Linked DNA regions of Homo sapiens: region 2 is linked to region 1. Evidence: promoter capture Hi-C in human tissues and cell types (Jung and others, 2019). All regions are on one chromosome and are shown on one strand. The core of a region is centred on a gene start or on the middle of the fragment in contact, and the rest is flanking DNA. Distances in the headings are between cores, read along the strand shown.

Region 1 (5,303 bases), core at 1,910-4,409:
ATTTTCCAGTATTTGACATGGGCGGGAACAGGACGGAAGTGGACCTCTTGCTGTAGTGGAAAACAAGTAGGAAAAAAATGGCAAAAGCACGGGAGAATCTGGCAGGGATGAGGGGATGTGGCAGACTTGCTGGCCAGAGCACCTACCTTTACTTGGGCATACCTGCCTTTAACTGGCTTCACCTGTGTGTGCTTGCCTTTACCTGGCTTCACCTGTGCACACCTGCCTGTGTGGTTCTGACCTCACGCCCTTGAGTGAGTCTCCTCCCCTCCTTGGACCTCAGCTTCCCACCTGTTAAATAACAGGGTTGCCTTGGGTTAGGCCACTCCCACTCGGGCTGTCTAAGAATCATTCTCTGAAGATGTGCTGGCCTCCAACTATTAATACATTAAGCCCCAAACCCAGGAGCTTCTCTGGGAGAAAGGGACTGCTGCTGAAGGCAGTGAGCATCTGGGTTAATCTAAGCCACAAAATATTTATAATGTTTTCCCCAGGACCAAAAAGGTGGCTATATCTCACATCCCTGATGGTATGGTGTCCCAGTTTCCAGTTCTCTATAAAACAGTTACTCTTCCCAGAAAGTCCTAGCGTGCTCAGGACCACACAGCGTGTACTCCACAGATGTGGCTGATGGTTTCATGGTTCAGGTTGGACAAGAAAAAAAGACAAGATGACCAGATGGAAAAGCTTACTCCTTTCTGCAAAACCTGGTGAATCCTGGAAGGCAGCTTCCAGAAACAAAACCGGAGGGTTCTGAAACCAGGAAGCCAGGAGGGTCATGTCTTCTTTTCCTAAACTGAACCTAAAACAAGGCACTTGGTGGTGTGTGTGGCTATGGGCCCCCCAGAAATTAGAATGCCAAAAGAGGTCCTACTTCAAATGAGCGGCGGGGGGTAGGTGTTCCCCTCAACCTGAGATGCCCGCTCAGAGCGTTAAGATGTGAATAAAGGCACTGTGGCAGCATTATCTGACCCTGAACCTTTTCATAAGAGCCTTTTTTTTTGGCTGTCAATACTTTTAGTTGACACATAATTGTACGTATTTATGGGTCCAGTGTGAGATGTTGATACACGTATGCAATGTGTAATGATCAAATTAGGGAAATTAGTGTATCCATCACCTGTAACCTTGATTTTCTTTGTTTTGGGATCATAAGAGATTTTTACAGACTTGAAGGATGTTGCTTCATCGGAGCACAAGGCTGAACTGGATATCTCTAAACAGACACAAAGAAACTGGGGCGTAAGCAGGATGCTGTCCTTAAAATGCCGAATGTCGGGGCTCTCACACAGCGCTCTTGTTGGCTAACAGATCAGAAAGACTGGAGGGGGATGGCCCAAGGGGTGTCCACTTGGGTGGAAGGCTGGCAGAGGCCTGCGTCCCTAGGGAAGTATTTCTTGGAGATAGCATAATGGCATCGGTCTTAAACCTTGCATGGAGATAGCCGAAAAATGTTCACAATTGAACTGTGACCAGCTGCCTGGTCTATCTGCAGCAGTGGTTCTAGAAACCTAGGAAGGGGTGTTCCAGGGGTGGGAATCTGGTGAGAGGAGGGAAATATCCTGAGGATAGGTCTTTGAGCTGGGTTTGCAGGGTAAATACACCACTTTATTCAGATGACTTGCCTTCTTTGGTGGGGAGGGTACTGATGGACTGTTATGGAAAGGTAGAGCCCCCACCCCCACTCCCTGCAACCCAGGTCTTGCATCTGCCACCGGCCAACCCAAAGAACATCCGATTGTCCTGCTCACACCTCTCCCAGGCACCCCAGCTTCCATGCCAAACAAAGGATGCCTGCAGGATCCTGTCAGGGCGTCCTTCTTCCTGTTTTGGGGATTATTATTTTTTGATTGATTGACTCCTTTATTCATTCAACAAATATTTTATCAAGTGTATGCTTAAGGAAGCAGCGACGAGAAAGACATTTACATAAGGCAGCTGCCCTCAAGGAGTTACAATATTTATTCCATGTGTGTCCTGAAATATTCAGGCCCCAAACACAACTTTTTTTTTTTTAACCTAAGTGCTTTTAAAGACTTCTTTGAAATGTGGGACAATTATGCAAGCTGAAAAAAAAAAGTATCTAGAGCAAATATTTAACTTTGCCTTTGGTATGTTGAAGTCACCAGCCCATGCAAACCTCTCAGGCATGTCCTGTAAGATAGACTGACTTACACACACACACACACACACACTCACTCTATGTAGGGGGCACAGTTAGGGGTTTGCATAATGCCGGGCTCCAGGGTTCTGGAGACAGTTCTACTCCACAGCTTGGACTCTGATCCCCACCCACACCTTCCAGAATACTGGAAAACTCAGAACACAGAGACCTCAAGAGCTTACTCAGAAACACGCAGCTCGTACTGGGGGAGACTCCCAGTGAATGATTAAGGCCTTGAGAAAATCTATCAGCCGATGGCTCACACGGCGGCCACAGCTCCAAGCTCAGGACCCGCCCCTTTGGGCTTCCGCAAACCTAGCAATCCGGAGTCCTGGATAATAACAGGATTCCTGGAGTCTCCGGAGGGTGCCTTTGGCCTCTGGGATTCACCCGAGCCGTTGGCTTTTGCTCCCCCCACCCCACCCCCTGGCTTTTCTTGGCTTGGAGGGCAGCTGGCGGAGATACCGTTGTGCACCCCTGGGCGGAAGGCGCCCCAGAACTGGTGGCCTGGGCAGCAGACGCCGGCGTATCACCCGGGTACAAAGTTTTCGTTTGCTCTGCAAACGTTTTGATGTGCAGGCAGCCTCTATTTCCAAATCCTATTATTATAAATACTCTGTGGCGGGAGCCAGCTGCGTTCGGGATAACCGTGCAGACCGAACCGGACTTTACAAAAATCAGGGACTTTCTCGTCCGCCGGCTTTGGCCAGGGAGGGGGAGGTCCGTGAGCCACGCAGCCCGGGGCGGGGCAGAGGCGGCCAGGGCGCCCCGCGGTCTCCCGGGGTTGCCACAACAGACCCCACGCGCACGCCCGAGCCGCAGCCGCGGGCGGGAGCGGGGTCGGGGCGGGGGACTGAGGTCCGCGGCGTGGGCGGGGGTGGGGGTCCAGGTCGGGTCGCCCGCGGGTCCTGGGCCGCACGCGTCCTTTCGGCGGCGAGAGGGCCCCTCCCCCACCCTCGCCGGAGCCAGCTCCCGCGCCGGGCGGGGCCGGGTCCTTCCCCACCCCCTGCACCTGAGCCGCGGCGGCGGCTCCTGAGCTCCGGCGGGGCTGGGCGCGGCGCCGCTCGGGTTCCCGCGGCCGATCCAGGTGTGCGCGGACGCTGGCGCTCCCGGGGGGCTCGGACCCGCCCCCGACTCGCCGAGCCAGGTGAGGCGGCGGCCGGGGACGCAGGGCGCGGGCCGGGGAGGACGGGAGGTGGCCCTTGGGCACCCGATCCTGCTCACTGACGGCATTTTGGGGGCATCTCGATTCCGGGAGCACCAACTACCGGGTAAGCGCAGTCCTGGACCCAGAGAGGCTGGAGAGGTGGGCGCTGGGGGGAGTGAGCCGCGTGTCCAGGTGGGGGTCGATTTTCCGTAGAGAGCCCTTCCCCCTGCATGCCTTTCTTCCCGGGCAGGGGCCGGTGTCGAAAGCTTTGGAAGCGGCGTGGGGGCAGAGCGCAGGAAGGAGCCCCCGCTTTATCTCCTGCGCGCATGGACCACGTAGTCTCTGGCGCGTCCTGCCCCTTCCTCTGGAACAGCGCGTGTGGCGCGACCTCCCCCGCTCTCCCGGGGTCTCCTTGCCCCGGGTCACCGCCCGCCAGCCCTAGGACCCGGGCCAGCGAGCCCAGCGGAGGAGCCGGCGCGGGGCCGCCAGGTGGCGCGCGGGGGCGGAGACCCGAACCGTGGCCGCCAGGTCCCCCGAGACCCCGCTGCGGTCACCCTGGCCCTGCACGCAGAGCTCCCATCCAGGCGCGCGCGGCGGCAGCAGCAGCTGTCGCGGAGAGGCCGGGGCCGGCGCGCCTGGTGCGGGCCCGGGGGTGGCGGGTCGGGCGCCCAGGTCCCGGGGGTCGCGCTGAGCCACAGCCGGGTGCCCGACCCCGGCCCGCCGTGCTCACCAGCTGGGATAGGGAGACCCGGCGGGCGCAGCCCGGCCGCCACCGTCCGTGAATTATGCAGGAAGCTGGCACCGGCGCGCTCGAGTTGATCAAGTTTCCCTGGCAACTTTCGCCCGGGCATCCCTCCTCCCCGGCGGCCGGGCAGCTCCGCCCGCCCAGCCCGCGGCCCAGGCGCCTCCACCGGGTGGCCCCGGCCCCGGGCGCCAGGCGCGGGGACCGCTCCCAGAGACGCCGACAGCGCACTCGTCACTTGGGCTGGAGCCGCCGGACTGAGCCAGCAGGTGCGACCACCGCAGCGGGCCTCGCCGCCCGGGTTCGGGGGGATGCGGGGGCTGGGGTGGACCTCGCCGCCAGGGTTCTGGGGCTTGGCGTGGGGGTGCAGCGCGGCGCCCTCCAGGCGGGTCTGCGTGCGGACACCCTGCTCGAGGTGGGTGGGCGCGTGGGCGAGGCTTGCCTTTCCGTGGGGCTGGAGCACCCAGAGGGAGAAAGGGTGGTGCAGGTGACCGTGGGTTTTCGCAGCCGATCTTTTAAAGGGGCTCGGGGCGCCTGGAACTGAGAAGGCGCTCGAGCCAGGCAGGTGAGGGGTGGGTGGTGGGGGGGTCAGGCGAAAGTACGTAAGGCTCTCGGGGGCTGGCAGCTGCTGGCAGGGGCCTGGGCGTCCTCAGAGGCCATCCGAAAATAAAGTGGTTTTCGGGTGGAAATTCGAGGTTGTAAATTGGATAGTTGAGTGACCTCTTTTTCGTTTGAAACTCAAGTTCGAACGTTAATGAGGCCAATCAGCTAATTAAGCTTCCAGATCCAGAGAGGTAATTTCGGAAGTCCCCCGGTGGGGGAGGGCGATTTGATCTCTATCTGGGATGTGGGCCTCGGTTTTGCCGACCCAGCCACAAGGGAAGTTCTGCGCCCCTGGAAAAGGACCTGGCAGATTCAGCCTTAACCCCGGTGCCCTGCGGTCCGCATCACATAGTTAGTGACGCCCTTCTGTGCACTAGGAACCGAGCCTGGTGCCCCAGAGGGTTCAGCAGGTCCAGAACAGCCCCGGGCCGATTGCTTTTGGAGTTTTCCAACTACTTGTGGGTTGGAAACAAGGTTGAGGGTCCTAATAGGGTTGAGCCTGTGGGGGTGGAGTGAGGAGAGCGAGCTCGGCCCCCATCTGGGTTCAGTGTTAATTCTGAGGGAAAGCCGTCGTGTCTGCTCTAAGAGGGGGATTGGTAGGTGGGAGCTGTGGGTTTCTATGCCGGATGTCACTGTCCTCTGAGGGG
Region 2 (3,001 bases), core at 247-2,746, 190 kb before region 1:
TTAGAAAAAAAGATAAAGGCTTAAAGGGCAGCTGGGGCCTTCCCACCATCTGGGGGTATGACCTATTGTCACAGCTCCCATTTCGCCATAGAACCATGGGGACTTCGTGCAGGGTGAGTATCCTCTCCGACCTGGAACTGGGGAAACCACTGGCCTTGGTGGTTGTGAAAGACCTACCTCCGCTCATATTCTGAGCTCTGGGCCTTCCATGGGGGCCACAGATAGTGCCACCAGTTAATCAACTACAGTAGAGCAGGCATGTTGAGTGGCTTCCCTGGCCGCAAGGAGGGCCCGTGCTAGGAGCTAATGCCTTCTGTCATGGGGTACTGGTGGGTTTGAGCAACAGTTCTCCCACACAGAGCCTCTTAGGGTCCTGGTGGGGCCCAGGGCAGATGGGCCCCAGTGTGACTGCCTGCATCCGTCCTCGCAGGGAGGTGGACTGGTTTTCACTGGCGAGCGTCATCTTCCTACTGCTGTTCGCCCCCTTCATCGTCTACTACTTCATCATGGCTTGTGACCAGTACAGCTGCGCCCTGACTGGCCCTGTGGTGGACATCGTCACCGGACATGCTCGGCTCTCGGACATCTGGGCCAAGACTCCACCTATAACGAGGAAAGCCGCCCAGCTCTATACCTTGTGGGTCACCTTCCAGGTCAGCAGCCCCTGCCCTGGGGTTGGGACACAGCAGGTGGGGAGCGTGCCCTCCTGCTGGGGTAGTCCTTCCATTTGTCTGGGACATGGATCCTGGCTCAGGTTGACATCTGGGTTCCCGGGACCCAGCAGGGCATTCCCTGGACTCTGACATGTTCAGATTCATCCTCAGCTGTAAGGCAGGAGGCACCTGTCACATCAGCGTTTGATACACCTTCACGGCATGCCTGCATGCAGTTGCTGGGCACGCCCAGCTCTGCAGGGACAAGCTGAGGATAGGAGCAAAACCCCGTGGGAGGGCAGTGCTGTCCTGAGGAAGCCCCATTGTCAGCAGGAGTCACGCCTTGCACCAGGTCTGGAAAGGAGCATCTCAGTCCCCAAAGGGACTCTCTCAGTCATGAGATGCCACTCAGAGAAGCGAGGGCCATGTTTCCCCACAGGCAGTCGAGGCAGGTCCAGGACGTCCTCAGCTCCATGGTGTCCCCACTGGCCTCCCAGTCCAGAGGGAGTTCCAGGAAGGGGTTGTTGTAAACCTGGTGCACACATGGGTGGTGCTGATTGCCTGAACCCAGGAAAAGGTTTCCAGGGAAACGGTGCTAGAAAGAGACAGGCCTGGGTTTTCCTTCCTGGGCGGGAGGAAGGCTCAGATCATGATTAGCTGTTTCTCCCCAGGGTCCAAGCTTCTGGGCTCCAGAATACTTCTCAGTTCAGATCTCTTGGTCCCTTTGAGTGAAAAATGACAGGGGCAGTGTGAATCACAAATAGCCACAAAGCAGGAACCCCCACCTGTCCATCAGTAGATGAATGGACCCACAGAACAGAACACTGTGCCCACTGTGGGACACTATTTGGCAGCGGAAGGGAATGAAGCTCTGATGCCAGTAGGCGGATGACCCTTGAAGACACTGCTGAGCGAGAGAAGCCAGTCACAGAGGCTGCATACTGTGTGGTTCCCTTTATATGCAATACCCAGTACAGGCAAATCCACAGAGGCAGAAAGCTCAGTGGCAGCCAGGGGCGGCAGGGACAGGGAATTCAGAGTGACCGGAGATTGGAACAACATTTTCTTCTGTGGTGATGAAAAGTTCTGGAATTAGCAGTGATAGGTGTACAACCAACCATGTAAATGCGCTAAATGCCGCTGAATTGTGCACTTTAAAAGGGTGAATTTTAGCCGGGTGTGGTGGTGCACACCTGTAATCCCAGCTACTTGGGAGGCTGAGGTGGAAGGATCACTTGAGCTCAGGAGGACAACGCTGCGGTGAGCTATGATTGCACCACTACACTCCAGCCTGGGTGGTAGAACAAGACCTCATCTCAAAGATAGATTTATATATATATATAAAAAGTTGAATTTTATGGGATTCTCCATTTTAAAAAGGTGACTGGGAGGGACCTGTGCGCTCTCCTGAGGGGCGAATGGAGCCCTGGGGGAGAACGCCTTGGCACCTTCCCTGGTTGATGAGTTTATTGTCTCAGAACCCCCTTCAAAACCCACAGCCCAGCAGTTTGAGCTTCCAGGAGCCATAAGTGCTTCAGGAAGAAAAAGACTATGATTGTGATTCTCATGTTCCTGCTATGCGTCCCCCTTTGCAGGTGCCCTCCAGGCGGGGGGTGATCAGGCTGCTTGTGTGTTTCAGGTGCTTCTGTACACGTCTCTCCCTGACTTCTGCCATAAGTTTCTACCCGGCTACGTAGGAGGCATCCAGGAGGGGGCCGTGACTCCTGCAGGTAGCCTCCTCCCTTCCACCCTCCCCAGGCTCCCGTTCTCATCCCTTTCTCTCAGGGGCCAGTCCTCCCCAGCGCTGCTTTGTCCCTAAGACTTGTCACAGGATAGAAATCCATTTTGCTTGGATTTTTCACAGCACCAGGCCTCAAAACCATTGAGGGCAGCTGGGGCCATCCCACACCCAGGTTAGAAATCACTTTCCTGGGTAAGGAGGGAATGGATGGCCCAGCTCCTTCCCAGCCCCATAGCAGGGGATGCACTCGGCCCATGAAGCTTCCTGCAGAGACCACCATGCAGAGACCACCATTCCTCGGGGCTGTCCGTGGGAGACCTTGTCTGTTCATTCCTTGCCATCATTGAGAACCCACGAGGAGCCTGGCTTTGTGCCTCTCACGTGGGTGCAGACTGGAACCGCATCCCAACTCTGCCCCCAGAAGCTCCCTGTTTTGAGGGGTGGATGGGCTGAGGTGCTCCCCAACAATTACAGAGGGGGCCAGGCATACCACAGGGGCATCCTCACTTGCTTCTGCCCCTCAGCCCTGACCTCCCTATCAGACTGCACACCTGTCACTCAGCCTATGGCCAGTTAACGAGATGCAGAACCAAAGGATGGACTCAGC

What was found. The method cuts DNA at HindIII sites, captures the fragments that hold promoters and counts their contacts. A contact is called where the count stands out against the background at its distance.
Region 2: a contact is called between a fragment that was not itself captured here and the fragment with the promoter of SHANK2 in region 1, in 1 of the 25 tissues and cell types used here (pancreas).

The regions. Positions count from the first base shown.
Region 1 is chr11:71,250,433-71,255,735 of GRCh38, reverse strand. SHANK2 (SH3 and multiple ankyrin repeat domains 2) reads left to right here and starts at 3,159. Exons shown (of 26, transcript NM_012309.5): 1 at 3,159-3,311. The HindIII fragment of the contact is 4,011 bases long and covers 194-4,204 here.
Region 2 is chr11:71,441,645-71,444,645 of GRCh38, reverse strand. DHCR7 (7-dehydrocholesterol reductase) reads left to right here. Exons shown (of 9, transcript NM_001360.3): 4 at 431-653; 5 at 2,293-2,383. Among named protein-coding and RNA genes, the nearest start is that of DHCR7, 5.2 kb to the left of the region's middle. The HindIII fragment of the contact is 6,551 bases long and covers 1-3,001 here.